Linked DNA regions of Homo sapiens: regions 1, 2 and 4 are each linked to region 3. Evidence: promoter capture Hi-C in 16 types of primary human blood cells and fetal thymus (Javierre and others, 2016). All regions are on one chromosome and are shown on one strand. Each heading gives the region's core, a stretch centred on a gene start or on the middle of the fragment in contact. The rest is flanking DNA. Distances are from core to core; before and after follow the strand shown.

The links. The method cuts DNA at HindIII sites, captures the fragments that hold promoters and counts their contacts. A CHiCAGO score of 5 or more calls a contact.
Region 1: a fragment that was not itself captured here is called in contact with the fragment with the promoter of ITIH5 in region 3 in 1 of 17 cell types (neutrophils); the score reaches 5.4 in neutrophils.
Region 2: a fragment that was not itself captured here is called in contact with the fragment with the promoter of ITIH5 in region 3 in 2 of 17 cell types (naive CD8 T cells and naive CD4 T cells); the score reaches 5.8 in naive CD8 T cells.
Region 4: a contact is called between a fragment that was not itself captured here and the fragment with the promoter of ITIH5 in region 3, in 1 of 17 cell types (total CD8 T cells). The highest score is 5.8, in total CD8 T cells.

What each region holds. Positions count from the first base shown.
Region 1 is chr10:6,849,672-6,857,080 of GRCh38, reverse strand. The region is part of intron 3 of LOC105376387 (a long non-coding RNA gene); the gene reads left to right. Among named protein-coding and RNA genes, the nearest start is that of LINC00707, 74 kb to the right of the region's middle. The HindIII fragment of the contact is 2,111 bases long and covers 3,696-5,806 here.
Region 2 is chr10:6,900,808-6,907,479 of GRCh38, reverse strand. The region is part of intron 3 of LOC105376387 (a long non-coding RNA gene); the gene reads left to right. Among named protein-coding and RNA genes, the nearest start is that of LINC00707, 120 kb to the right of the region's middle. The HindIII fragment of the contact is 754 bases long and covers 4,886-5,639 here.
Region 3 is chr10:7,661,507-7,668,745 of GRCh38, reverse strand. ITIH5 (inter-alpha-trypsin inhibitor heavy chain 5) reads left to right here and starts at 1,780. Exons shown (of 14, transcript NM_030569.7): 1 at 1,780-1,943. The coding sequence starts at 1,854. The HindIII fragment of the contact is 13,140 bases long and covers 1-5,909 here.
Region 4 is chr10:6,880,549-6,887,973 of GRCh38, reverse strand. The region is part of intron 3 of LOC105376387 (a long non-coding RNA gene); the gene reads left to right. Among named protein-coding and RNA genes, the nearest start is that of LINC00707, 100 kb to the right of the region's middle. The HindIII fragment of the contact is 270 bases long and covers 3,060-3,329 here.

The sequences.
Region 1 (7,409 bases), core at 3,502-6,001, 810 kb after region 3:
TTTTATCCTGCTGGTCTAGCTTTTTCTTCTCAAACAAGCACAGCAAGGAAGACATCATTAAGACATCAACTTTACAGGACAGAAGATGTCACAAAGAGGTCACTAAGCTAGTAACAGGTAGGTCTGAAGCTAATCCAAGCCCATCAGACAGCCAAGCTCTTAACCACAAATGCTATACCGTTCTAGTTTGGCATGATGGAATCTCAGCTCTAAACAAGGGCATCTGCCCAAGGCAGTCAGTGGGAGCTTAAATCCAGCTGTGTTGGAGGATTATTTCTGCCCAAAGACACCTTCCAGGTGCCTCTTTCTGATGGACATTGATGGACGTTTCTGATGGACGTTGTCCACTCTGGCATGGACTGCAGGGCTGTGTTAGCTCAAGAGGGGAAGCTGCATCTGGTGCACACAGGGGCATGTGCCAGGGAGGCGGTAGCCCCATTAGCCTGATCCATTTCTCATGATCTTGGCAATCACTTATTTTGCTAAAGAATGCTCCAGAATCCTCCTTTTAATTCTCTGCCTGAGTATTTTCCCTGGAGAAATGACAAGGTTACCAGTCTATGGTCATGATGGTTTCCATCCTTCACCCCCACCACCTTTTTTAAAAATATCTACTCAGAATATATCCAGATCAAGATGTCCAGTGCTTCTTCTCCGTAAGCTATTCTCAATATAATAATAATACCTATGTTATTTCTCAAAAGACGGCCAACAGCATGTATTCATACCCATCTGCATAACCTTTCCTACCACCCTGGGAAAGACTGTCTGAAACTAAAGAGTAAAACTCCTCTGAAATGACATCTTCTTCCAATATTCTTACACTTTTTCATTTGTAGGTCATTTGTCATAACAGGAAAAAAAAAAGGGGGACATAGGAAGAATTTTGCTTTTTTCTCTGTTGCGTGCGAGTATTTTATGATCGTTGCCAACAAGTGGCTTGTCCTGGCCTTGAGCTCCCTCCCGCATGGATTAGACCTGGGAATTTTTTGTGATTATTGTTGCCTTATCTATTTTTTTGACATGCTTTTTTGTTTTATACTATTCTATAATAAAAGTCTCTGATTAGACATGTGGCCTTTCACGTTCTCTGTCATTTACCAGTGGGCTTTTGTGAAACCCAATAAGCTTCCTTTGCATCTCCCTCAGTTCTTCCCCATTGAAATTATCTGGATTCTAAGTGTGGTGTACATATGATAAGGCACAGAATGTGGAGTCTATTCTACCTCCCCATTGCCATTTATTCTACATATTTTCATACTCTAACATTGGCCAAGGGGTACATTGTATCCATAAATATCCAAAGACTTCGAATGTTTAATGCTTTTGGCTTACCGCTTGTATTTATAGGAATTTAATCTTAGGGAAGTATGCATGGATAGGTGCAAAGAAATTTAGATGCAAAGTTGTTTATTGTAGCAAAGTTTAAATTAGCCAAAACTTAGAAACAACTTATATGTTTAGTACCTGAATGTTAGTTAAATAAATTCTGGTAGATCCAACCAATGAGTTATTAGGCAGTCTTTAAAAATCATGCTATAACTATAAAACTCCTAGAAAAAAAATGTAGGGGAGGTGCCTTACACGACTGGTCTTGGCAATGATTTCTTGACTATGACACCAAAATCAGAGGTTAAAAAAGCAAAAACAGACAAGTGGGACTATATGAAACCAAAAAGCTTCTGTGCAGCAAAGAAAACAATCAGCAGAGCAAAAGGCATCCTATGGAATTGGAGAGAATATTTGCAAGTCATATATATAAGAGACTAATATCCAAAATATGTGAGGAACCGCTACAACTTAATAGCAAAAAACCAAATAACCCAGTTAAAGACTAGGCAAAGGATTTGGACAAACATTTCTCCAAAAAAGACATACAAATGGCCACCAGTCTATGAAAAGGTGCTCAGCATCACTAATCAGCAGGGGAAGGCAAATCAAAAGCACAGTGGGATATTATCTCACACCTGTCAGGATAACCATTATTTAAACAAAAAACAAAAAGAGACAATAACAAATATTAGCAAGGAAGTGGAGAAATTGAAAGGCTGGTACACTCTTGGTGGGAATGTAAATTGGTAGGTACAGCCATTATGAAAAAAAGATATGGAGGCTCCTCAAAAAATTTAAAATAGAACTCCCATATGATCCAGCAACCCCACTTCTGGGTATTTATTCAAAATAATGGAAATACACTGTGTGTGTGTGTGTGTGTGTGTGTGTGTGTGTGTGTGTGTGTGTGTGATGTTATTCAGCCTTAAGAAAAAAGGAAATTCTGTCATGTAGCTACAACATAGATGAAACTTGAGGACATTATATTAAGTGAAATAAGCCAGTCAGAGGACAAATACTACATGATTCTACTTATATGAAGTAGTTAAAGTAACCAAACTCTTAGAAGCAGAAAATAGCATGGTGGTTGCCAGGGACTGGGGGATAGGCCGAATGGGGAGTTGCTGTTTAATGGGTATAGAATTTTGATCATGAATGATGAAAAAGTTCTAGAGATTTGCTGTAGAACAGTGCACACATGGTTAACAATACTATGTTGTATACTTGAATATTTGTTGAGGGTAGAACTCATGTTGCATGTTTTTTACCATAATAGAGACAAAATCATGCTGTAGCATTTATTGATGGTAAAATGTTTACAATATATTTGTAAATTCTGAAAAACAAATTTATGCATGATATATGTAACTTCAAAAAATACATGCAGAAAAACACATAGAAAATCAACTGTAGGGATAACACCAAACTGTTACTTGTGCTTATCTCTGGGGTATCAGTAATATTAGTTTTCTTTTTTTGAATTTTTATACTTTCCAAAATTAAACATTTGATTTTGTTTCTGAGTTAGTGTTTTAGTTGGTTTTCTTTAGAAATAAAGATGCATTTGCTCAGAATAAGAAATATATTTTCTGAAGCTATTTTTTTTTTTTTCCGAGACGGAGTTTCGCTCTTTTTGCCCAAGCTGGAGCAGTGGTGCGATGTCAGCTCACTGCAACCTCCACCTCCCAGGTTCAAGCAATTCTCCTGCCTCAGCCTCCTGAGTAGCTGGGATTACAGGCGTACATCATCTCACCCAGCTAAGTTTTGTATTTTTAGTAGAGACGGGGTTTCCCCGTGTTGGCCAGGCTGGTCTCAAATGCCTGACCTCAGGTCATGTGCCTACCTCGGCCTTCCAAAGTGCTGGGATTGCAGGCATGAGCCACTGTGCCCGGCCTTTGGAGCTATTTCAAAGTTCTCTTGGATAATGGAAATAGAAAAAACAACAACAACAAAGTAGGATTTTATTCATTCATTTCATCCTACATATATTTACTAAACAGTGTGCCATGCTTTTTCCCTCCCTGTTGGGACATTTTCTGAGAGGTATACTGTCACTTACTGTGTGACTTCAGGTAAGCCATTTGGCCAACGATGAGCTTCACTTCCTGATATTGAAAATGGGGATAATAATAATATGCTCCACCTACTCAATCAGGATTTTGAAGGTTTAATAATGTTAGCAAATACAAAGGCAGCACATTAATTGCAAAACACTGTCATTTTTATGACTATTATCTTTACTATTATATTATCAATTTATTGTATTTTCTCAGATCTTTCAATGTGTGAGGCTGAAACTGCATTTATCAAAACACACTCGGCCTTCCCAGGATCTCCCTAATCTTCCAACAGTATCCCAAGCTTCTTCCTCTCTTCTCTGCAGAGCCAGTCCCAGCTCAACAACCATGAGCTAACGTCCTAAATCTTCTCGCAGAGGATAGTCCAGTAGATTCCATGACTTGCATTAAACTCATTTCCCTTTTTATTTTCCAAACTTGTGAATTTTCTCTTTTTAATAGTTTTACCCTTAGAGTCTTTAAAATTTATATTATTTTCCACGTCATCCCCGTTCTCTGCCCATTCCCACCTTACCATATAACTGACCTGTCGAAGTGGCCTGAGTTCCCTTCAGCATCTCCATACTGCATGGACTTTTCAGGGCAACAGTAGCATGAGATACTCACGAGCAACAAAACGGCTACAGTTTGATATTTTGAGTGCATTCAGAATAACCAAGAATGCATTCAAACCCTACTGCCATATAAAAGGAGAATCCCTTTTCACCTACAAGGAAAGGGATTCCCCTTTTAGATGACAGTAGGGTTTGAGGTGAGTGATAACAGGATATAGCATGGTTAGTAAGCGAAATTATCCCAATAAACATTAGTCTGCTTATCTTCCGTGCATCACATTTATTATTTTATTTTTGTGTGTGTACATTTTTGTACCCAGCAAGATCTTAGTGTTATGGTTGAATTTTGTAGTTTGTAGACACTCCATGTCTCAAAAAAAAAAAAAAAAATATATATATATATATATATATATATATTTGAGATGGAGTCTCGCTCTGTGGCCCAGGCTGAGTGCAGTGAGGCTGTCTCAGCTCACTGCAACCTCCACCTCCCGGGATCAAGGAATTCTCCTGCCTCAGCCTCCTGAGTAGCTGGGAATACAGGAACACACCACCACACCTGACAAATTTTGTATTTTTAGTAGAGACGGGATTTCACCATGTTGGCCAGGTTGATCTCAAACTCCTGACATTAAGTGATCTGCCCACCTTGGCCCCCAAAGTGCTCTGATTACAGCGTGAGCCACCGTCCCCAGCCCCTGTATGTTTTTCTGTCTCACCCTGTGTGTCCCTTCTCCTCTGGTGAATATTAGGTTTTATTCTTTGCATTTTCACCAGAATAAAAGTAAAAGAGTTACTGTGCTTCTCCCAGACTGCCAATCTATTTATTTGCGTCTTACTTTCCTCAAAAGGGAGTTGGTAAGTGATTTTTACAAAAAGGGGCTCATTTATATTTTATATGCATGGTAGATAAAATAAAGATAAAAGAGAAAACAGAACTCACATGGAAAGAGAGGGGGAAGAGGAAGATTAGGGGAGAACATTACTAAAAATGAGCACGAAATTGTCTGAATTTCTTGTTACCCAGTATAATAGAGAAATAAGATAATGCTCTATGCAGTTTGTGTGATAAAAGAAACCATATTGACTTGCTATAAGAGACAATTTTATATTCTATCAAGAAATCCTGTAGACTCTTATTAGGGACATAACATAAACCATGTCCTCAGAACTATTTTCCCAGAAAACATATGCTTTGTAAATTATGTTTATTATCTTACCGGAAGATTTTAAAAATAATTTCATAGAACAAAGAGAGAGTGGAAATGAACCATATTGTTTTGGGGAATGGGACTATCTTAAAATTTTTCTTCCTTTTGCTTTTCTGTATTTTTCCAATTTGTCTATAATGAGTATGAATTACTCATATACGGAAAAAATAAACTTTACTTAAAAATAATAAATAACTGCACTTCACGAAGGTTTTTCTTATACCAGCCTTTGGTAAGAGCTGAGAGCATGGTCCTGAATCTTTGTTCAGGGAAAGGGCTTCTATGAGGACCAAATCATTTTAAACCAAGGAGTTTACATTCTCATGCTCTGCTTGACACAAGTATCTAATGACAAAGTTCAACTTGTTCCTTGGACTGTCTCAACTACCATTTATCTCAACATTTTTGGACATGAGTTAAGTAGCTGTCAATCGGAAGTTTAACTCTCAACTTACTACCAAAAAGCTGAGATTCTTTCTTAGAAGAAAAGGTGATCAAAAAATGCTAAACCTTAGAGAGTCAAGAAGCAATATCAACATGATGCCATGAAATCTAAGAGCTGCTGATTTATGGGATTTTTGGAAAGAGGCTGCTCCATCTTCACATAACAGTAGCAGCATGGAAGGAAGCTTGCTTCAGGGAGGGAGAAATTTTTTTTTTTTAATTAAAGGAAGGTTTGAATTGACCCCAAGCCTGGGTGAGTACTCAGTTGAGTCAGCATAGTTCTGCACCAAGAAGCTTGGAAAAGACTTCTTTGGTCTGTGCAGCTTAAAGGACAACATGCATTTTAAATCAAGTATGTAACTACTTGTTAATAATCTTGGTAAATTTTTATACTTTCCAAAATTAAACATTTGATTTTTCTCTGAGTTAGTATTTTAGTTTTTTTACTTTCGAAATGAAGATGAATGTGTTTGGAATAAGAAATATGTTTTCTGGAGCTATTTCAAAGTTCTCTTGGATAATAGAAAACAACAACAACAACAAAGTGGGATTTTATTCGCTTATTTTACCCTGCAAATTTTTACTGAACAGTGTGCCATACTTTTTTCCTAGGCTACAAACCTGTACAGCATGTGATTCTACTGAATATACGGGCAATTGTTAACACAATGGTAGGTATTTGTGTATCTAAACATACCTAAACATCGAAAAGTAGAGTAGAGGCCCAGTGTGGTGGCTTATGCCTGGAATGCCAGCACTGCGGGAGGCCAAAGTGAGAGAATGGCTTGAAACCAGGTGTTTGAGACCAGGCTGGGCAAGATAGCAAGACCCTATCTCTATAAATTTTTTAAAAAAATATTAGCCAGGTGCAGTGGCTTGGGCCTTTATTTCTAGCTACTCAGGAGGCTGAGGCAGGAGGATCACTTAAGCCCAGGGGCCCATGATTGCACACTGCATTCCAGCCTGAATGACAGCCTGCAGCTTACTTTTTTTTTTAATAACAGTCTGTTTCAAAGAGCAGAAGTTTTTAATTTTGATGAAGTCCAGTTAATCAATTGCTTCTTTTATGATTTTTTCTTTTTTCGGTGGCAAATTTCTGTTTTATTTTGTCTGGAAATAGGTATAGCTCTCATTCCTAAAAATATTCTCACTGAGGATATAAATCTGGTTGACAGTTATCATGTTCTTTCAGCATATTATGCCATTGCCTTCCAACTCTCAGTGCTGCTGTTGAGAAATCAGATGACACGCTAAATGTCTAAAAATGATCAGCAGAATTTTTCTTTTGTGTCTTAAGATTTATTTGCCAAGGTCTCAATAATTTTCTTCTGTATTTTCTTCTAGAGGTTTTATAGTTGTAGGTCTTATATTTAGGTGATCTGTTTCAAGTTAATTTTATATAGTGTAAATTTCACTTTTTTCATATAAATTTTATTTTTGGCATATGGATGAACAATTGTTCTGGTATAATTTGTTGAAATGGCTATCTTTTGCCCATTAAATGGCACCATTGTCAAAAAATAACTGACCATGTATGTGTAGGTCTATTTCTGGAATCTCTATTCAGATCCATTGAGCTAGAAAGTCTCTTCTTTTACCAATACCTTCCTTGATTTCTGTGCTTTTCTGTAAGTCTTGAAATTAGGTACAACAAGTTCTCTGATTTTTTTTTTCTTCAAAACTGTTTTCGGTGTTTTAAGTTCTTTGCTTTGTTGTATAAACTTTAGGATCAACTCATAAATTTTAACCCCAAAAAAAAGCCCTTCTAAGAATTTTATTTGTATTATGTG
Region 2 (6,672 bases), core at 4,013-6,512, 760 kb after region 3:
CAGCGTGTGATGTTCCCTTTCCTGTGTCCATGTGTTCTCATTGTTCAATTCCCACCTATGAGTGAGAACATGCGGTGTTTGGTTTTTTGTCCTTGCGATAGTTTACTGAGAATGATGATTTCCAATTTCATCCATGTCCCTACAAAGGACATGAACTCATCATTTTTTATGGCTGCATAGTATTCCATGGTGTATATGTGCCACATTTTCTTAATCCAGTCTATCATTGTTGGACATTTGGGTTGGTTCCAAGTCTTTGCTATTGTGAATAGTGCCGCAATAAACATACGTGTGCATGAGTCTTTATAGCAGCATGATTTATAGTCCTTTGGGTATATACTCAGTAATGGGATGCCTGGGTCAAATGGTATTTCTAGTTCTAGATCCCTGAGGAATCGCCACACTGACTTCCACAATGGTTGAACTAGTTGACAGTCCCACCAACAGTGTAAAAGTGTTCCTATTTCTCCACATCCTCTCCAGCACCGGTTGTTTCCTGACTTTTTAATGATTGCCATTCTAACTGGTGTGAGATGGTATCTCATTGTGGTTTTGATTTGCATTTCTCTGATGGCCAGTGATGATGAGCATTTTTTCATGTGTTTTTTTGGCTGCATAAATGTCTTCTTTTGAGAAGTGTCTGTTCATGTCCTTCACCCACTTTTTGATGGGGTTGTTTTTTTCTTGTAAATTTGTTTGAGTTCATTGTAGATTCTGGATATTAGCCCTTTGTCAGATGAGTAGGTTGTGAAAATTTTCTCCCATTTTGTAGGTTGCCTGTTCACTCTGATGGTAGTTTCTTTTGCTGTGCAGAAGCTCTTTAGTTTAATGAGATCCCATTTGTCAATTTTGGCTTTTGTTGCCATTGCTTTTGGTGTTTTAGACATGAAATCCTTGCCCATGCCTATGTCCTGAATGGTAATGCCTAGGTTTTCTTCTAGGGTTTTTATGGTTTTAGGTCTAACGTTTAAGTCTTTAATCCATCTTGAATTAATTTTTGTATAAGGTGTAAGGAAGGGATCCAGTTTCAGCTTTCTACATATGGCTAGCCAGTTTTCCCAGCACCATTTATTAAATAGGGAATCCTTTCCCCGTTGCTTGTTTTTCTCAGGTTTGTCAAAGATCAGATAGTTGTAGATATGCGGCGTTATTTCTGAGGGCTCTGTTAGCCAACAGAGAGTTTTAAGCAAGCAAATTTTAAGACCTAATTTGTATTTTGAAAAGACTATTTTTTTCTTTTTCTTTTTCTTTTTTTCTTTTTTTTTTTTGAGACAGACTTTTGATCTGTCATCCAGGCTGGGGTGCAGTGGTGCAATCCCAGCTCGCTACAACCTCCACCTCCCAGGCTCAAGCCATCTTCCCACCTCAGCCTCCCAAGTAGCTGGGACCACAGGTGTTTGCCACCATGCCTGGCAAATTTTTATATTTTTTGTAGAGACAGGGTTTTGCTGTGTTGCCCAGGCTGGTCTCCTAATGCCTGTCTTCAAGTGACCCACCCACCTTGGCCTCCCAAAGTGCTGGGATTACAGGTGTGAGCCACCACATCTGGCCTGAAAAGACTCCTCTTAATCTTAAGCATAGATTGGACAGAACCAGAGTAAAGGAAGGTGATAGATGAATTGGAAGATTATTGTAGCAGTCTAGGCAAGAAATGTACTAGCTGAGAGTATGGTTGGAATGGAGAAAATGGAAAGAGCTGGACGTACTTGAGAAGTAATTTGGGAAAAAAATCAAAAGGATATATTTACGAATTAGTAGAGGAAGGGGTTGAAGAAGAGAGTGGTATCAACTGTGACTCCTAGTTGTGACCAGAGAGATTGGGTGGTTGGTGGGGACATTTGAGCTACTTTTGAGATATAAAAAGTAGTTAACTAGACCGCTGGATATGCAAATCTGGAGCTCAAGGGAAAGATTGGGCTGAATTTGGAAGTGATGAGATGGTAATAAAAATGTTTTCAAAGTTAGAGAAAAGTACAGAGGTAGCTGAAAAGGATGAGACATTAAAAATGTTTATTTTAAGATCAAAAATTCTTGAGCACATACAAAAGTTAATGAAAATTAAAAAGAACAATGGAATATGCAGGAGGAAGAAGGAATAAATAATTATGAAAATATTCTATCGATTTGTTTTTAATCAATTTTGTATTTTTCATATTTCCAAAAATTATTCAAAATAACATAATATTTCAATATGAAACACAAAAGCAGTAGTATTTAATTTTTGAAATATTTAATATTAGTAACAGAAGATTATAATACATTAAGGTATCTGAAACTAGTGGATCTGTCAGGATGATTGAAATTAACAAACCCCTTGAACAGGGCCAAATCTAGCCTAGCACCTGCTTTTGTAAATAAGACTACCGGAAAACAGATATGCCCATTTATTTACATATTGTCTATGACTGCTTTCCACTACAATGGCAGAGTTGAACAGAGATTGTATGGTCTGAAAAACCGAAAATATTTACTATATTCCTCCACTTTGGCATAAAGATTATTTTAAGTTGTAGACAATAAGAACAAGCAGACACCAAAAAAAGCCCTCTGCCTTGTCCCTATTTACCTGAAAGCAGGACATAAATTTCCCTTTGAGATGGTATCCCCACTCCTCTTTCCCATACCAGGAAGAGGAGAAGGAATCTTACTACTGGAGAGAGCACTGAGATAAGTATACACAAACAAAACCTTAATAAACAACTTTTATCTTCCGTTAGTTTCCCCCATATATTTACCTTCCCACAAATTATCCTGGAAGCTCAAAACTCCCGTTCCTTTGTAATTGTCATGTCTGCACAAATTACAGCCCTTTGTTAGAGTGGTATATAAGCCTCCAGTTCTCACTGCCTCTTTGGGGTTTCACTTGATTTCTGTGAGGCCTTCCATATGCACATAAAATAACTCTTTCCCTCCTGTTAATCTGTCTTTTGCAGGTTTACTTTTTAGGGCTCCAGTTACTAAACCCAAGAGGGTAGAGAAAAAGTTTTCCGCCCCCTGCAATAATAAGCATGTAACATACAAGTAAACTGCAAAAAATAGTTGTGAGATCAGGAGGGAAAAATTCAGAGTTGGAATCAGAGGCAGGGAGGGGAACTGACATCAGCCTGTCTTTCTTTGTCCAAATCATATCCTTACCGTGTCCTTATTCATTTCTTCATTGAGAAGATCCATCTTTTCCAAATTTTTCTGGTATCGCTTGGAAAACACAAAAATCACCTCTGGGAAGCTTGGGTTTTTATGTTTATAAATATTCACTTAATTTCCACAAATATGACGTTTTTCACCAGGGTAGGGGGGCGTGCCTGTTGGGAAAGATTGTAACGCAGGGCCTTGCAGATTTTGTCCTGTCCAGTTTTCTTATTAGCTTGAAATAACTTAATTTTTTTTCTTTGGAATATCCTTTCCTTTCTGCTTTCCTCATTGTAATACATAAAACAAACGCAAGTTCTTACCCAACAGAGTCCTGTAGAAGCATTTGTGAGAAAAGGAGAGATTTTGAGTAATGTGCGGCCTGTGCAAGATTCTCACTGAATTGGACTGTCCTAAATAGGAAGCTTGAATGAGAGATTTCCTTGTTAGGTTTTCTCCTTACTATCACTACCCACAGCATATTTTTTTAGATATATTTGCAATATTAATTGAGTACCTACTGTAAACCTTGCATTTTACATAATTTGTGTAAATTATTCCTCACTATAACCTTGCAAATATACCTTATTGACCCATTTTACAGATGAGCAACGAGGTTTACGGAGTGAATTTCCCACATTCATAGAACTGGAATTTGAACTTTGGTCCAGTTGAATTACAAAGTTTGCCCTCTTTCCAATATATCCTCCTGTCATTTTCTTGGGTAAGATGTGTTTTCCTGCTAGTTAATTCTGTATCAACATTTGAACATATAGCCAAGGGCACAAAGAGAGTTTTTAGGATTTCTAGTGGAGTTCTTTGTAAAAACACTGTTCTTTTTTTTTTTTTTTTTTTGACAGAGTCTTGCTCTGTCGCCCAGGCTGGAGTGTGAAGGCGTGATCTTGGCTCACTGCAACGTCCACCTCCTGGGTTTAAGCATTTCTCCTGCCTCAGCCTCCTGAGTAGCTTGGATTATAGGCACTCACCATCACGCCTGGGTAATTTTTTGTTTTGTTTTGTTTTGTTTTTGAGACGGAGTCTTGCTCTGTCGCCCAGGCTAGAGTGCAGTGGCGCAAACTCGGCTCACTGCAAGCTCTGCCTCCCAGGTTCACGCCATTCTCCCGCCTCAGCCTCCTGAGCAGCTGGGATTACAGGGACCTGCCAGCATGCCCGGCTAAGTTTTTTGTATCTTTAGTAGAGACGGGGTTTCACCATGTTAGCCAGGATGGTCTCCAACTCCTGACTTTGTGATTCGCCTGCCTCAGCCTCCCAAAGTGCTGGGATTACAGGCGTGAGCCACCATGACCAGCCAATTTTTGTATTTTTAGTAGAGACAAGGTTTCACCATGTTGGCCAGGCTGGTCTTAAACTCCTGACCTCAAGTGATCCACCCTCTTGGCCTCCCAAAGTGCTGTGATTACAGGCATGAGCCATTGCATCTGGCCAAAAACACTGTTCTTTTACATTTATTTTGTACATCTATTGAGATTTTTACAAGTTGATTTTACAAATGTGCAACCAATCTCTTTGCTGCTTTCTCTGTTCTGATTTTCTTGTAGCTGAGCCCTATATCCTAGAGTCTTCTCTTTTCAACACTAAAACAAAAATATTAAGAGTTTGCCCAATATAATCCATAATTAGCTGAGATAGCTACTGTTGAAACTGCTTACTGCCCATCTTTACCCAGAACCAAATTGGGAAAAGCATTTCCTTTTCAAGGAGATCCATAAACTATGAAGAAATATATTGCTAAGCTTCTTATTTAGCAGTTTTGTAAATTATAATTAATAATATTGTTTAACAATAATATTTTGGTAACAATGGTTTACACAACGCTAGATATCTTTGCAAAATATAGGGAGATGTTCTTTAAGACTTTATTATAAGAATCGGTAAGTGTGATGAATTCATTACTGCCTCATCTTTTTGCCCATCCTATATTTAAAACACTGCAGTTTATGATGTAGAATATTAAAATCTATTATGAATACATGATTAATACATATAGAAAAACCCTTCTAACAGCTGTGTGCTGTTTTATTGTTATGATTGTCTTTCCAATGTGGCATTAATAAAATTGATGCCATAGTACAGCCCCTCAAATTGCTTGTTACTGGTAATGAGGGAATAATTTGAAAGTAAATAGTCTCTGGCAAAACTAAAGATGGCTATTTATTTGAGACTTGATTAATTAATAATTATTCATTAACTGATGCTAAATGCCTAATGTGTTGTCTTTGCCTCTTGGCCAAAAGATACTGGTGTTTTATTTTGGTGCCAATGCTAATTGTTAATTATTGCTCTGGGAGCTGGAATTTGACTGAGAAACAAAAGTTTGCTAGTGACTTGCTTTCCTCAAGTCCACGGAGGAGGGAAAAAAAAAAAAAAGCCTCTAGACCCTTGAGTCTCACTTCTAAGCCTGAGCTTTATGCCTAAAATTTGCAGCCCTGAGGGAAAGGTTTGGAAAGCTGCAGGAAAACCCCACAAGACAAGCATTCATAGCTGAAGCTTTGGGGACCATTGTTGCAAACTGAGTCCTAAATCAACTGAGGTCATTTAAACCGAATGCACTACCAGCCTGTTTCAATGTGGAATTTCAGCAAGGTGTTGTTAATATCCCCTTAAGTGGCTTTGTTGTGATTTAACATTTCGACTACTGGGACCTAATTGGACCTTAGGTCTTAGCAGTTCTGAACAAAGAGTGACATTTTCAAATAATTTGGGAAAATACATTAATTTCCTTAACTTTTTTTATTGTTTGTGGGTAGGGCCAAGGAAGACTACATCTCTATAAAAAAGCACACAGATCCTTCCAATTTATTGCTTGACAGTTCGCATAAGTTTAGACATTTGCATGGTTGATGGTAGATGATAGAATGCCTTGAAAGTTTTTTCCAGGGTGCAAAGTTTATATAATTTGTTTTACATTTCATTGCAATAGGCAGTGTTTCCATTGGCTGCAATTTTTTAAGGCTAGACATGCACAACTTCTGATAGCAACAGGAGGCAGCCAAATGCCCAGGCAGACAGGGGTGGGTCCCCAGTGAAACCCCACCTTCAAGCCAAAAAACAGCCTGAAGGCTGGAAGACCAGACTGCTGGTCCTGGATGAAACCCACAACCCAGTGTGAGAACTTCTGTTCCTGTTTGCCCCCACTTTCCTGGTTGATTCTTTCTGAATAATGCCTTCTAACCAATCAAATGTTGCCTTTTCCAATACTATCTGCGGCCTGCCCCCTCCCCTATTCTGAGGCCATAAACCCCCGGACTCAGCCACACTGGGGGGACTTTCCTGCCTTCAGTTAGGGGGATCATCCCCATGTCTCCTCTCCATGGAAGGCTGTTTCATCACTCAGTAAAACTCCCTGCCTTGCTCACTCTTCAATTGTCATGTATCCTCATTCTTCTTGGATGCTGGACAAGAGCTCGGGACCCACCAAGTGCAGGTACCCAGAAAGGCTGTCACACTGGCCTTTTGCCCTCACTGGCAGAGGGCAGCCACCCCACACAGTAGGGCCAGGGACCAGCTGAGCTGCTAACATGC
Region 3 (7,239 bases), core at 531-3,030:
AACTAACCTACCCACTGCTTTTATTTTTCATGTTTTTTTTTTCTAGTTATGTCCCTCCATATGTATTTCTACCTAATTGCAATCATACTGTTGATACGATTTGGTGATGTGATTTTCTCTTTAGATTACACTGTCAACATTCTCCATGTTTCTGGAGACGTCGCACGATTATTTAATGGCCCCATAGTAACCTGCATGGAATAGTATTCTCTATTCCATGGTCCGAAGTTAGCCCCTTCCCTGTTCTTGGTCCTTAAAGGGTCTGTCACTCACCTCACCTATTTAGATGAAATTATCACAGAGACATAAAAAACATCCTTTGCAACATGAAATAAACAAGTAGCCCCAACTGCAATGTGTATCACCAGATAAAAAAGACGCACTCAGCCTGTAGAAGGCCAGGTGTGGACGGCTGGTGGGTAAGAATTCTTCCAATGGCAGGATGGAAGTATCACCAATAGTTTGTAACTAAGATACATACTGGCACTCACTTACATGATTAATAACCAGAAACTCAGAAATACTACACGCTACCAAGATACTTCCCTCGTCTCCTCTGTTTCCTTAGAACATAAAGGCTGGCAGCCTTGCTAGTCCCTCCTGCGCTAGACTGCAGGTAGTATCCTTTGTCCTGCCTATTAAGCGTCCCTGGCCAATGCAGAGGGGACGATCTGCCGGCTTCAGGCTGGCAGGTGCGGGGTGGGCTGTGTGCTGAGGACCAGGCTGGCCTTCTCGCGTCCTCTGGCGACAGAAATTAAGCAAGTCCGCAAAGAAGCATATTGCACCTTGAGGGAGAGGAAGAAAGAGTTGCGGGGGCGCGTGGGGTAGGGCCCGGGAGGCAGTGGGTGTTGGCAAGAAACGGAGTAGGAGGCTCTACAGAGGAGACTGGTCCTTGGTTAAGTGTCACAGCCGCAGGATGGGAGGGTGTGGGAGGGGTCCGTGGGGCCAACACAGGTGGCCCCTGCTGTGCGCGGCGAGGCAGGCTTGGAATGCCTTCTCCCCGAACAGAGCTAGCCCAGCACTGGGGGCTGGAGGCGCGGCTCTGGTGGGACTGAGGCCGGGAAGCGGCGCCGGGCGGGGTGGGGACTGGGGAGGAGGCGGGGCTGGTGTGGGGGCCACAGGGAGGCGGGCCGGGTTTAAGGGGGTGGCTGTAGGTGGGGTCTGGGAAGTTGGCCTCGGTGGGGACAGGGACAGGAGAGGTGGGGCCGGGACTGGGGAGGTGGGGGGAAATGGGGGCGTGGAGAAACGGAGCTTGGGGTTGGGGACCTGGGGAAGCTGGGTCCTGACTGGGGACAGGGAGGCGAGGCCGGGCTTGGGGGGTGTCCAGGGAGGCAGGGTGTGGGAAGGTCTGGGGCGGGGAAGTGGGGTCTGGGCTGGGGTGGGAGAGTTGGAGTCCAGAAGGGGACCGCGGGGTGGAAGGGGTCCGGGCTGGGACCGGGGTAGGCGGAGTCCAGGAGGGGACGCAGGGTGGGCGGGGTCCGGGCTGGGTCCGTGGGGTGGGCGGGGTCCGGGCTGGGACGCGGGGTGGGCGGGGTCCGGGCTGGGTCCGTGGGGTGGGCGGGGTCCGGGCTGGGTCCGTGGGGTGGGCGGAGTCCAGGAGGGGACCGCAGGGTGGGCGGGGTCCGGGCTGGGTCCGTGGGGTGGGCGGGGTCCGGGCTGGGTCCGTGGGGTGGGCGGGGTCCGGGCTGGGACCGCGGGGTGGGCGGGGTCCGGGCTGGGTCCGTGGGGTGGGCGGGGTCCGGGCTGGGACCGCGGGGTGGGCGGCCCCGAGAGCGTCCCGCAGTGGCTGGAGCCCTGGGCGCTGCAAAGCGTGTCCCGCCGGGTCCCCGAGCGTCCCGCGCCCTCGCCCCGCCATGCTCCTGCTGCTGGGGCTGTGCCTGGGGCTGTCCCTGTGTGTGGGGTCGCAGGAAGAGGCGCAGAGCTGGGGCCACTCTTCGGAGCAGGTAAGTGGAGCCGAGGGGAGCCGGGTCCCGGGCGCGGCCGCCCCCTTCCCTCCGCCGGCCCGGCCGCGGAGCTTCTGCCCGGGCCCCCTTCGACCGTCTCCCAGGCCCCCACCAGAGGCCCAGGGGTCCCTCTCTGTGGGTCACTCGTGCGTCACCTCTGTGTGAGCCGCGGTGCCTGATCTGGCCTGAGGCTTCCTGCAGAACTGTGCCCGGGACTTGTCCTGCGGAGCCGAGTTTTTCTTCTTGGCTCCTGTTGATTGCGCAGATTTCTGTTCGTCGTTGTTAATTTCTGAGGTAGCTCCAAAAGTTATTATAATTACAAGGTTTTTTCCTTATCACGCGTGGGGGGCAGTCTGCTGTTATCATCATTCCCAGTTGATCCAGGGAGAAAGGCAATATGAGAGGAGTTCTAGACTCCTGGGAGCCTCAGCTTTTCCCACCTGAAAACCGGGAGAACACGACTTTCCCATTTAGCGACTACCTACCGGTGGTTTAGCATTTAAAGGTGGCACCGAGAGCCAAAGCGTCTGAGTTCCTCGAGTTGCTGGTCTGTGCGTTTGTCAGGATTTGTGTTTCAAATGTCTTAACCTCGCAGGCGAATAAAACCTGCAAATATGAAATGTCAATAAAATGATGAATAGAGCATTTTTGTCTTTAAAAAGTATGAAGCGGGTTCACACAAATAGCATTGAGAGCTAATGTGCAACATGGCCCTGTCACAAAGTAGAAGTGCTTTCACACACATGCCATTTAAATATTTAAGCCGTTTAGCTTCCAGCGTGTTTGTGCACGGTGGGAGGAAGATACAAGTAGGCGGACCTTTTCTCCCTTTTCCAGCCCCTGTTTTGAAGAGCAGTTTTGAAGCCCAACTGCCTAAATATGAAGACAGTTATCTTCATGTTCTCTGTCCTGTGAATGTGCTTAACAGTAAAGTGGTAGTAATGATACTTCCTTCTAGGGGGGGAGTAGCTAATAAAATCCCAGGAGGCATCGTAGTGATGTTGGAAAAGTGCAGGCTTTGGATGCAGAGACAGGCTGGGCTTTAGTTGTGTGTTCCGGGCAAGCCCTTTAATCTCTCAGAGCCTTCATGTCCTCGTTGGTCAGGGCAGGGAATGCGGCTCTTTTTGAGCAAACTTGCAAGGACTCAGCTAATTTGTGTTAAGCACCTGGTATACAGTGGACGCTCAATAACTGGGAGATGTTTTAGTAGATGGCTGAAGGCATGGGCTTGGTACCAGGATGTCTGGGACCACTTGATTCTTGATTCTGTCACTTATCAGCTCTGGGACCCTGATCAAGTGCCTTTCGGCCTTATATTCCTCTTCTGTGAAATGTGGAGAAATGATAGGGTTGTGAGGACTGAATGCATTATGACACCCAAGTGCTTAAAACACTGTCAGCACTTAATGCTGGCCATGGTCTTAGACTCATGCTGCTGACATGCTGAGTGAAGGAATTTAGGGTAAAGATCTTGAAACTTTTTTGGGGGTGTGGAGACAGGACAGTGTGGGATGGACTGAAACAAAGATTCTGTGTCTGAACTAGGAAGGCTGTTTAAACTCTAGCATATACCAAGTTCAAGTAGGCTTCACAGTCTATGGACTTGCTGTCATAAAAAAACATGGCTTGACCTCTTTTAGTGATTTCATGCTGTCTTCAACCCAGCACAATATTTATTTATCTTGAAAATGACTAAATCAGGAAAAAAAATCCAAGGTATAAAGTTCTATGAACTTGCAATTTTACCTTTTATCCCTAATCCGTTCTTTTTTATATTTAGTTTTTGTGATATAGGGTTTGAGAGCATAGGCTTTAGCACCAGAATTCTGGGTTCAAATCTTGGCTCTGCACTTACTGAGGAGTTACTTAACGTTTGTGAGCCTCTATCTCTGTATGGGGATGATGCAATTACTTAGGATTTTGAAAAGTGAAACAATTAATATACTTAAATCTTAGAACAGAACCTGGGAATGTAATGAGCACTCTATTCTCAATCATTATGGTCTTTAAAATTGTATGTAAACTTAATTTGAAAAATGTAAGTCTATGCAAATCTTATGCAAATTTTAATATAGCTGAATATGACTATTAACTTGCATTGCAGTTATTTGTCATTCACCTGTAATTGGAAATATACCAGTAACACCTTAGATTCAAGTTCCTTCACCTCTCACCCTTCACCCCATCTGTAGACAGTGGGTACTCAGTAACCCATAGTGGAATGACTCCTAAAAGCAGTGGTTTTCACCCTTGGGGTGGAAAAAGTCACTTGGGGTGTTCATTAAACATTCAGCTTCCTGAGTTCCACTTCCATTGGTTTAGATCCATTGGGTTTGGGATGGGGCGCAGATGATTCTGATGCAGGTGGTCCATGGAACACATTTTAGTTTTTTTTTTTTTTTTGAGACGGAATCTCGCTGTGTCGCCCAGGCTGGAGTGCAGTGGCAGGCTCTCTGCTCTCTGCAACCTCTGGCTCCTGGGTTCAAGTGATTCTCATGCCTCAGCCTCCCAAGCAGATGGGATTACAGGTGCACTCCACCATGCCTGGCTAATTTTTGTATTTTTAATAGAGACAAAAATACATCACGTTGGCCAGGCTGGTCTCAAACTCCTGAGCTCAAGTGATCCACCTGCCCTGGCCTCCCAAAGTGCTGGGATTACAGGCATAAGCCACTGTGCCTAGCCGCACACTTTGAATAGTAGTATTTTTAAAGGATATTTTGGGAAATTAGTATTTAAAAGAAAATCCCTTGTATAAAAACTGTCTGCTACAGACTTATCTGTTTTGTTAGCTTAAATTTATATGGTGTCTTTAAAGATAGAGTTATATTCCCATTATTATCAAAGCAGTTTTAGATTGACAAAATAGTAAAAGCCACCAGTTATTGAGTATCTGTAATGTCCCAATGTCTCAGGGAGTTTGCTAGGAGCTTTATGTGAAAATAATAAGAGGCAATAATGTATTCTGGTTGAGTACTCCATGTGGTGCCGGACTGCCTGGGCTCATATCTGGACCCCATCACTTACTGCCTGTGTGTACCTGGGCAAGTCACTTAACCTCTCTGGGTCTCAGTTTCATCATCTGCAATATAGAGTTGTTAATAATTCCTACTACATAGGCAGGGGTGGATCTAGGCTTTGGGAGGAGAGTAAAGTTTATACAATTTGCAGGACCCTCTTGAAGGAAAAAAGTATCAAATTATAACTACAAAATTAGGTGCTAAAATGACTATTTATTTAGAAAGATAAAGAAAGCACAACAAATTACACATTTTGACAATCTGACAGGCACCACAAACATCACGCATTTTTAGGGGCTTGCACAAGTGAGGTGTCCTGGAGCTTATGTTTTATTAGCATGTAAATAATAATTTAATTTTTATAAAAATAACAGTTCTGCTTTTATGGTTGTTCGAGGATTAAATGAGTTAATTCAGGCAAAGCATTTGCATATAGTAAACACTTAGGTAATATTAGCTGCTTTTACTATTTATGCACAGCCTAGTTAAGTCTCTGACTACCGCTGTAATGTCTCAATGTACTTATTTGACAAAGGACAACCAGGAAGTCCTTTCTGAGAAGTGACAGCTGCAACAACCTACTATGTGCAAAGCCTGGATTGGAGTGTAGGTGTGCCGAACACCAAAGCTGGGGCTCTCAGCAAATCCTTCAAACAGCAAGCCATGTTCACTTTTATAATTTAGTTGAATTTATTTAAATGTGATTTGTATTTGTAGCTCATGGCACATAGGTGATGTGCAATATATGCTAGTCATAATTCAAACATCTATTGTGGTGATACATTTCTAATTCCCTGAATTGGACATTTCCAGATTTTTAATTTCTTACAAATTCTCACTGAGAAGCAAATTTTTGCATTTGGGGGGGAAAAAAACAACAAAAATCAAGATAGCTATTTTTTTTCAACTCTTTAAAAAACAAAGCCAGTGAAAGATTTTGTAAGCTTCTGGCCATTCAATAACGTCTCCCTTATGTGCAGGGCTGGATTGTTGAAATGAGTTTGTAGGGCAGAGTGCGGAAGGAGTATGCTGTGGGAGAAATTCCAGGGATTTGGTCACTCCCAAAGCAGCCATATGCCATTTCTTGAGGGTGGAAAGGAAGGGTGGGGAAGTCCTGAGAACTGGGTGATGAGCTGTGTGTGACTTGGTGTTCCTAACTAGCACTTTCCCCAAGTCCTTGGATGCTCACATATAAGGCGATCTTGCTTATCATGTCATCAGCGTAGCTGCTGGGAATGCCAGCCGGGTGTTTCTGGATCTGAGGAGCAGTGGAGTAGGTCGATTTAGGAAGATGGGGGACAGAGGATGAAGACCTGAGCTTTTTTTAGGAGGAGGGTTCTGAACCACTCATTATTTTCCCACAAGAAACATCCAGTTCCCTGATTTTTCTTTTCTTTTCTCTGTCTGTCTCTCTCTCTTTTTTTTTTTGAGACAGTCTCACTCTGTTGCCCAGGCTGGAGCGCAGTGGCATGATCTTGGCTCACTGCAACCTCCGCCTCCCGGATTCAAGCAATTCTCCTGCCTCAGCCTCCCAAGTAGCTGGGACTACAGGCACACACCACCACACTTGGATAATTTTTGTATTTTTGTAGAGACGGGGCTTTACCGTGTTGGCCAGGCTGGTCTCGAACTCCTGATCTCAGATGATCGGCCTGCCTTGACCTCCCAAAGTGCTGAGATTACAGGCTTGAGCCACCGCACCCCACCCCTGATATTTTATAGGTAAATAAAATAAACAGGGTGACTTGCCTAATGGCAGTTGCTTTTAAAAAATTTTAATCGGCCAGGCACAGTGGTTCACACCTGTAATCCCAGCAGTTTGGGAGGCTGAGGTGGGCAGATAGCTTGAGCCCAGGAGTTCAAGACCAGCCTGGACAACATGGTTGAAACCCCATGTCTACTAAAAGTACAAAAATTAGCTGGGCATGGTGGCATGCACCTGTAGTCCCAGGTACTTGGGAGGCTGAGGTGGGAGGATCACCTGAGCCCAGGTAGTCAAGGCTGCAGTGAGCTGTAATCATGCCACTGCACTCCAGCCTGGGTGGTATGAGTTGAGACTCTGCCTCAAAAAAACTTAAAAAACAATCTTTCTGGAAATTGTTTGGAATTTTAGCTGTAATATCAGGTTTCTTCTTCCATTACCAAGGTGATAGGCATCCCAAATTGCAAATGATTAATAGCTAAACAAACTTGCAGCAACATTACTTTCAAGGAAGAAAAATTTGGGGTGAGTGATATAGAATTACCCAAATGGGAATATTCTCAGACTAACCGTT
Region 4 (7,425 bases), core at 1,945-4,444, 780 kb after region 3:
GGCAGTAGAATTGAAACTTAAACATAGGTTTTTCAACTCAAAAATGCCAACCACTAATATGAGCATTTACTAAGAATTGAATTGGTTTATTAAGTATAAACATTGGACTATAAATGACTTGGCTAGTAACTCTGACAAGCAATGAATCATACAAACCATTATTATCAAGGTTAGTTAAAGACTTAATAATATTTTAAGGTTAAATAATTTATTACTAAAATAATATATATTATTATATAAGATTACTATATATCATCAAATACTATATATTATATATGTGTTTTAATTATCTTCTTTCCAGTTAATCCAGTTGAACAAAAATACGTTTACCTTTCTGACCTGGTGGGAAAACATCTGGCATAGCCCCAAATGATATTTTGGCTTTGACAGGTTCTAAAGAAAGGAGAAAAGAGTAAAACAGTGAACAATTACATACATTACAAAAATTTCCTTTAAAAAAAGCTTTATAACAAATAAAGATGAAAACATAAAAAAAAAAAAAATTAGAGATTTGAAGACATTAAATAGAACCAAGGACAAAGCAAAGCAAAAATGGGTGATGTCCTCATTTTTAGCTTAACATTTAAAAAGATATGTATATTAATACTCAGGCCAAAAAGAAGGGAAAAATCAGCAGGACCTGAATGTGTGGGTTGATGGGGGATGGGGGCTCTCTTGAGGGAACCTGTTCACAATGTTGCATTCATTTTTTTGGCTCTGCATTGCAGCCCCAGGGAACTTCTCACCTTTGATTTTTCCACTGCAAAGTGAGGAGTTGAACTAAAGTCTCGCAAAGGTCCCTAGAGCTTAATGTTCTACAGCAAGGGTGTCCCTACTTTTGGCTTCCCTGGGCCACATTGGAAGAAGAAGAATTGTCTTGGGTCACACACAAAATATACTGACACTAACGATAGTTGATGAGCTAAAAAGCAAAACCACCAAAAAATCTCAGAATGTTTTAAGAAAGTTTAGGAATTTGAATTGGGCTGCATTCAAAGCTGTCCCGCACAGCATGTGTCCTGCAGGCTGCGGGTTGGACAAGCTTGTTCTAGAGCTCTATGGTTTTATAATTGAATAAAGTCAATTTCATGAAAAACTAGAAAGTGAAAATTCATGACAGAAAAGATCAATTGTTTCCAAATCTCCAATAGCCAAAAATAATGAAAACAACAGCCACAAATCACTGCACACCAGGCCTAGCTCTGAGTGGTTTATATCTTTTAAGACAGCAATCCCCAACCTTTCTGGCACCAGGGACCAGTCTCATGAAAGGTAATATTTCCACGGATCGGGATGGGGGGATGGTTTTAGGATGAAACTGTTTCACCTCAGGTCATCAGGCAATAGATTCTCATAAGGAGCGTGCAACTGAGATCCCTGGCATGCACAGTTCACAATAGGGTTTGCGCTCCTATGACAATCTAATACCACCGCTGATCTGACAGGAGGTGGAGCTCAGGCGGTAATGCTTGCTCACCAACCGCTCATCTCCTACTGTGTGGCCCTGTTCCTAACAGGCCACAGACCAGTACCAGTCCATGGCATGGGGTTTGGGGACCCCTGTTTTACAGCATTCCTTCTGTATAAGCATCTTTAGGAGGACGGCACTAAGAAGTCATTTCCAGCTTTCAGAGGAGAAGGTTTGACACAGAGGTCACAGAGCATGCCTAAGATCCTGTCACTGGTGAGGGCCTGGGTGGACTCAATTCAAAGGCCAAGCAAATTTCCTTCAAAGGTAAAAGGCAAACTGGAAGGTGTTAGAGGAGACCTGAAGAATTGGATGCTGAAAACAGTTTAAGGGAAAGTGGTAGGTTTAAGCGTCGGGAGACCTATTATAATTATGGCAAATTAATTAATTTGCCTTGTACTGAATCCACATCGCTCATAAGATCTCTCACCTCAGTGCCTTGGTTTAGTAGTAATAATGAGAACAACAACAAATGCCAACAGTAATAGCAGCTGACGTACATTGAGCACTAACTGTATGCAATAATATGCAAGGAACTGTTAAACATTCACCTCGGCTGGGCGCAGTGGCTCGTTCCTATAATCCCAGCACTTTGGCAGGCAGAAGTGAGCAGATCATCTGAGGTCAGGAGTTCAAGACCAGCCTGGCCAACATGGTGAAACCCTGTCGCTATGAAAAATACAAAAATTAGCCAGGCGTGGTGCCATGCACCTGTAATCTTAGCTACTTGGGAGGCTGAGGCAGGAGAATCACTTGAACCTAGGATATGGAGGTTGCAGTGAGCCGAGATGATGCCACTGCACTCCAGCCTGGGCGACAGAGCGAGACCCTGTCTCAACAACAACAACAAAAAAAAACAAACTAACTAAGAAAACATTTATCTCATAGAGACCTTGCAAAACACCAGCAGATACACTTTGCTTCCTGTTTTGTGGATAGATAAGTTGCAGTTTGAAGAGTTTAAATCATTTCCTCCAGGTGACATACAGTAACTGGTAGAGCCGCAAATTGATGAGGGTTCTGTTGGATTCTGAAGCCATGTGTTCCTCTCTCTCCCCACTGCCTCAGATGCCATTTTAATGCCTTCACACTGCACTGGCACCATCAGTGGCAGCCAGCTACTGTCTAGAGTGTTCAATGAACAGAAACATCCTATTTCCTAACCATGTTAGAAAAAATGAGAGCTAGAAAAAAGATGCAAATGAAAACATCAACTATCATAAATTGACCTTGTAGCATGGATCTCAACCAAAGCTGGAATATAAGAGTCCCCATGGAAGTTGACTAAAACAGAAGCAAAAGTGAAAGTGCACATGGCTGACACTCTCCCCAGAATGCAGACATTATCTCTTTATCTTCAAGGAGAATATCCAGTTGTCCCAGCACTATTTGTTAAAAAATCGATTCTTGTACCTTCATCAAAGATCAACTGACCATAAATATAAGAGATTACTTCTGGACTTTCAATATTATTTCATCGTCTACATGTCTGTCCTTATGCCAGAACAATACTGATTACTGTAGTTTGTTGTTAAGTTTTGATATTGTGAAGTGTGTGTGTCTTCTTGGGCATGTATAATTTGGAAAAGCTTCGCTAGAATTCTTATACATAGCCAAGGGGTGAGAACCACTGGTCCCAGAAGGCTTTGTTCGGGTGACATCACTAAGGAGATAGGAGATAAGTTTCAGAATAAGCATTGTTTATTTCTGGAAGTGACTCTGGACTCATGAAGAACCTGAGCTTTCCAATATGTCTCCAAAGCTGCTGCTTCAGTGACCAGGACAATAACAGCATTTAACTTCAAAGAAGTGGCTTTCTTTGGGCAAAAGTCCTCTGTTTATTGCTGTTAATGTCAAAGCTTCCATTAAAACATAAAGCTTTTCAAAGTCTAGGTCATAAGGTCTTAACTTGGAGTAAGAGGCTTATTGCAAACAATAATATTTGCATGTATGTGCAAATTCTGGGAGAGGATCTAAAATTTTTTATAAAACTCTCGAAGGGGTTCATGATGCAAAGCAAGAAGCCAAATCCTGTGGATAAATCTGCTCTTTGCAAACCCTATCAGAAGAATCCGAATCCTAACCCAGATGATGGTGGACACTTCCGAGTGACTTGCTGACGACTGTTTCTTAGGCTTCTTCAGAATGGGGGAGTTAGTTGTTTCTCTTGGGGAGAAGTGAGCACTGACTGCCAATGATGCTGAACACTAGGGGTTCCGTCTAGGGCTTGTTGCTTGCTGCACAGAAAGGCAATCACTGAGATGAATATTTCCAGGAAAGAAAGGCTTTGTTCAGGTGACATCACTAAGGAGATAGGAGATGAGTTTCAAATCCATCTTCCCAACCAATCAAAACTTGGGTTTATCTAGCGAGGAAGGAATGTAGCTATGTGTGGGAATACAGAGATTAGGGAGGATAAGGAGGAGGAGTTGGCCAGCAGGAAGCAGGTGGTCAATTAGGCAGTCATGGTGGATGAGGGATCTGGCAACTCATTGTCTGGATGTGGTTATTTGGTAAGTTTCAGTTCCTTGATACTATCTGGGAGGCCTGAAAGAACTCAGATAAGGGCCAGGCTTGGTGGCTCACACCTGTAATCCCAGCACTTTGGGAGGCTGAGGCAGGTGGATATCCTGAGGTCAGGAGTTTGAGACCAGCCTGGCCAACATGATGAAACCCCATCTCTACTAAAAATGCAAAAACTAGCAGGGTGTGGTGGCACATGCCTGTAATCCTAGCTACTTGGGAGGCTGAGGCATGAGAATCACTTGAACCCTGGAGGCGGAGGTTGTAGTGAACAGAGATCATACCACTGCACTTCAGCCTGAGTGACAGAGTGAGACTTCATTTAAAAAAAAAAAAAAAAAAAAAAAAAAACCCAGAGAAGACAAATGTAAGTTTCAACCTTTAATTTTAAGGGGGTGAATTTCTGTGTTTATTCAAAAAACCCACAAACATCAGTTCTATAGGGAAATTGGGCTGGTATCACCAACAACCCTGAGAAACTGTACACTGTGTGTACCTATATTCTGATCATCTGCGAGAGGACAGAGCTCTGGAAGTTTCTTCCCATTCCCAAGTTCTGTGTCCAGCAGCGACCCTGGAGATTTTCAGAAAAGGAAATAGTATATGTAATAGGCTTACTTTCCAGTGAAAACCTTATACCTGCCATTCTTGCCACCCAAGGTGAACCATCCACTCTCCCAGATGCTTCCAGATTTCCTAATTTATGAAATCCTTCTAACACTGCATTTATGTGATGCTGGGCAGTCAATTTTAACTGCATACAATCCAGTCAAAAGCTCCTATCATACGAGGATAATCACCTAGATGTTTGAAACCTTTGTAAACTGTGGGCCCAATCTTTCTTCCCAGCTTTTTTCATGTCCATTCTTCAGGAAGCAAAGATTCTTCTCTTGACAACTCCTTTGTTCTCATGAATATTACAGAAACATTCTTGGTCCTGTCATTTGACAAAGAAACATAAATATTTAGATATTGCGCAGAAGTGGTTGACTGGAAGTATAGACAAATGATCAGGTTTGGGATGTCATAGTTTATTCATTCAGGAATAAAATAGAGACAAAACGACTCCACGGTAGATAGTGTGAAGTGGAAAAGGGTATTTAGGCAGGATTCTTCAGCAGATTGCATGCTGCCAACCTTGCCTTTTTGGATTGTTGAGAAAACAGTCATATAGAGAAACCATAGATTTCAATGGTGAAGGGGAAGAGAATCAAAAATTGTTATACTTTTATGTCCAGCACATTGTATAAGATCTGGATTTCTTCTTTGTTTCCTGAGGCCAGGACCCAACTGTCTCTTCTAAACTCGTGAACTTTTTTTTTTTTTTTGAGATGGAGTCTCACTCTGTTGCCCAGGCTGGAGTGCACTGGCGCAATCTCGGCTCACTGCTAGCTCCACCTCCCGGGTTCACGCCATTCTCCTGCCTCAGCCTCCTGAGTAGCTGGGACTACAGGAGCCTGCCACCATGCCTGGCTAATTTTTTTTTTTTTTGGTGGGGGGGTATTTTTTAGCCAGGATGGTCTCGATCTCCTGACCTTGTGATCTGCCTGCCTCAGCCTCCCAAAATGCTGGGATTACAGGCATGAGCCACCGCACCTGGCCAAAACTCATGAACTCTTAAAGCAACCATGTGTTAATGAGGCCAGTATGAGATGGGAGTAGGCACTTCATCTTCATCTCATCAAATAAGCAACACATCATTGACTCCATAAGATCTGCAGCTTGATTGAAGCTTCTATGGCAGTGACCCAGATATTCTGGTTCATAAAAATACTAAATCCTTTAATGAAACACACAGAATTAAGTTAATATGATTTATGTCACCCGTCACCCAGGGGGCTGATGCTTCATAGTGATCTTGATTAAAGGGAGATTATGAAATACATGCAACCTCCCTCATTTGCATTTAGTTCAAAGAAAATGGCCCAAATGGAACTAAATAGGCATTTGAGCACAAGGAAAAGATTTTTTTTTTTAAATTAGGCATGAAAATGAAACAACGTGCCAATAATTTGCACAGCATTATTTTTGGACTAGAAAGTGAATTAGGCATGAAAAAAGTTCCAAACTGATTATGTTAATTATGTTTCATCTGAACAAGGAAATTTAATAATCTCCATCCCCCAATATACATCAATCTCAAATTTGGTACTTTAAGCTATTTCCATCTTAGAATGTTGAGTGGTGCATATTTTAAACACATGTGGTTTCTTTTTTGATTCGAAGGAAGAAAAAAGTTAGAAACTAGTATGTAATACTCTGTGACATTTGTTTCATTATCTTCATATTACAGGTAAAAATATTGAAGCTCAGTGGGTCCAATCTTAATAGTAGGAAGAAGTAAAGCAGAAATTTAAATTCACGCCTATCTGTTTCCATAGCTCATTATTTTCTACCGCATCATGTTGCCTTCTATTCTTTCCTTTATATCTGGAGCAAAGACTATTTCGCATGACTAATATACCCGTCAAATCCAGAAATGGTACCTGTAACAGAAAACACTCATCTAGCTAATACTGTGTACATCACTTCCTTGGACATGATTATAGGTTTACTATTATCTCTTTCTATAAAACAGTGGTATCTGCTTCCCTTGGACTGAACTAGGCATTGTTTTCACGTGATTTCATAATTTCATATGATCAATGAGAGCCAGCATTGGTGAGTATGTGAAAATTACAGTGGGCTGGATGCAGTGGCTCATTCCTGTAATCCCAGCACTTTGGAATGTTGAAGCGGGAGGATCACTTGAGCCCAGGAGTTTGGGACCAACCTAGGAAACATAATGAGATCTTGTATCTACAAAACATAAAAATTTAGCCCGTGTGTGGCAGGCAGGCATCTGTGGTCCCAGCTACTCAGGAGGCTGAGGCAGGAGGATGGCTTAAGCCCAGGAGGTCAAGGCTGCAGTGAGCCATGATCACGCCACTGCATTCCAGCAACAAAGCAAGAACCTGTCTCAAAAAACAAAAAATACAGTACATTAGTTGACAATTGCTGACATGAACAGGTGCCTGGCTGTTGGCAAAAAACTGACAGGTCTCTGTGCATTTATTTACCTAACCACATTTAAGATGTATGCAAAACAGCTGATGTAAGAACAAAGAAATGTTAAGAGAAAATGCTAAGAAAATAGTAGAGCAAAGCTCAAACAGATAACTAGATCAAAATGAGATGCTATCATGAGGAAGAGGAATCAACACTGTAGAAGAAAGAGAAGAATGATTGGTTGTAAGAACAAATCATAAAAAGGTTGAAGGGGCCACTAGTCAACAAACTGTAATCACAATGGAACAGCAAATCATAAGAAATAAAACGGACTTGCTATGAAATTAGGTATTATTCTCATACTATGCCTACCTCTTATTCCAGCTGCTACAAATATGTTTTTTTCTGTTGAGAAAAAAACCAGTTTCCTCAAAATAAATGTAATG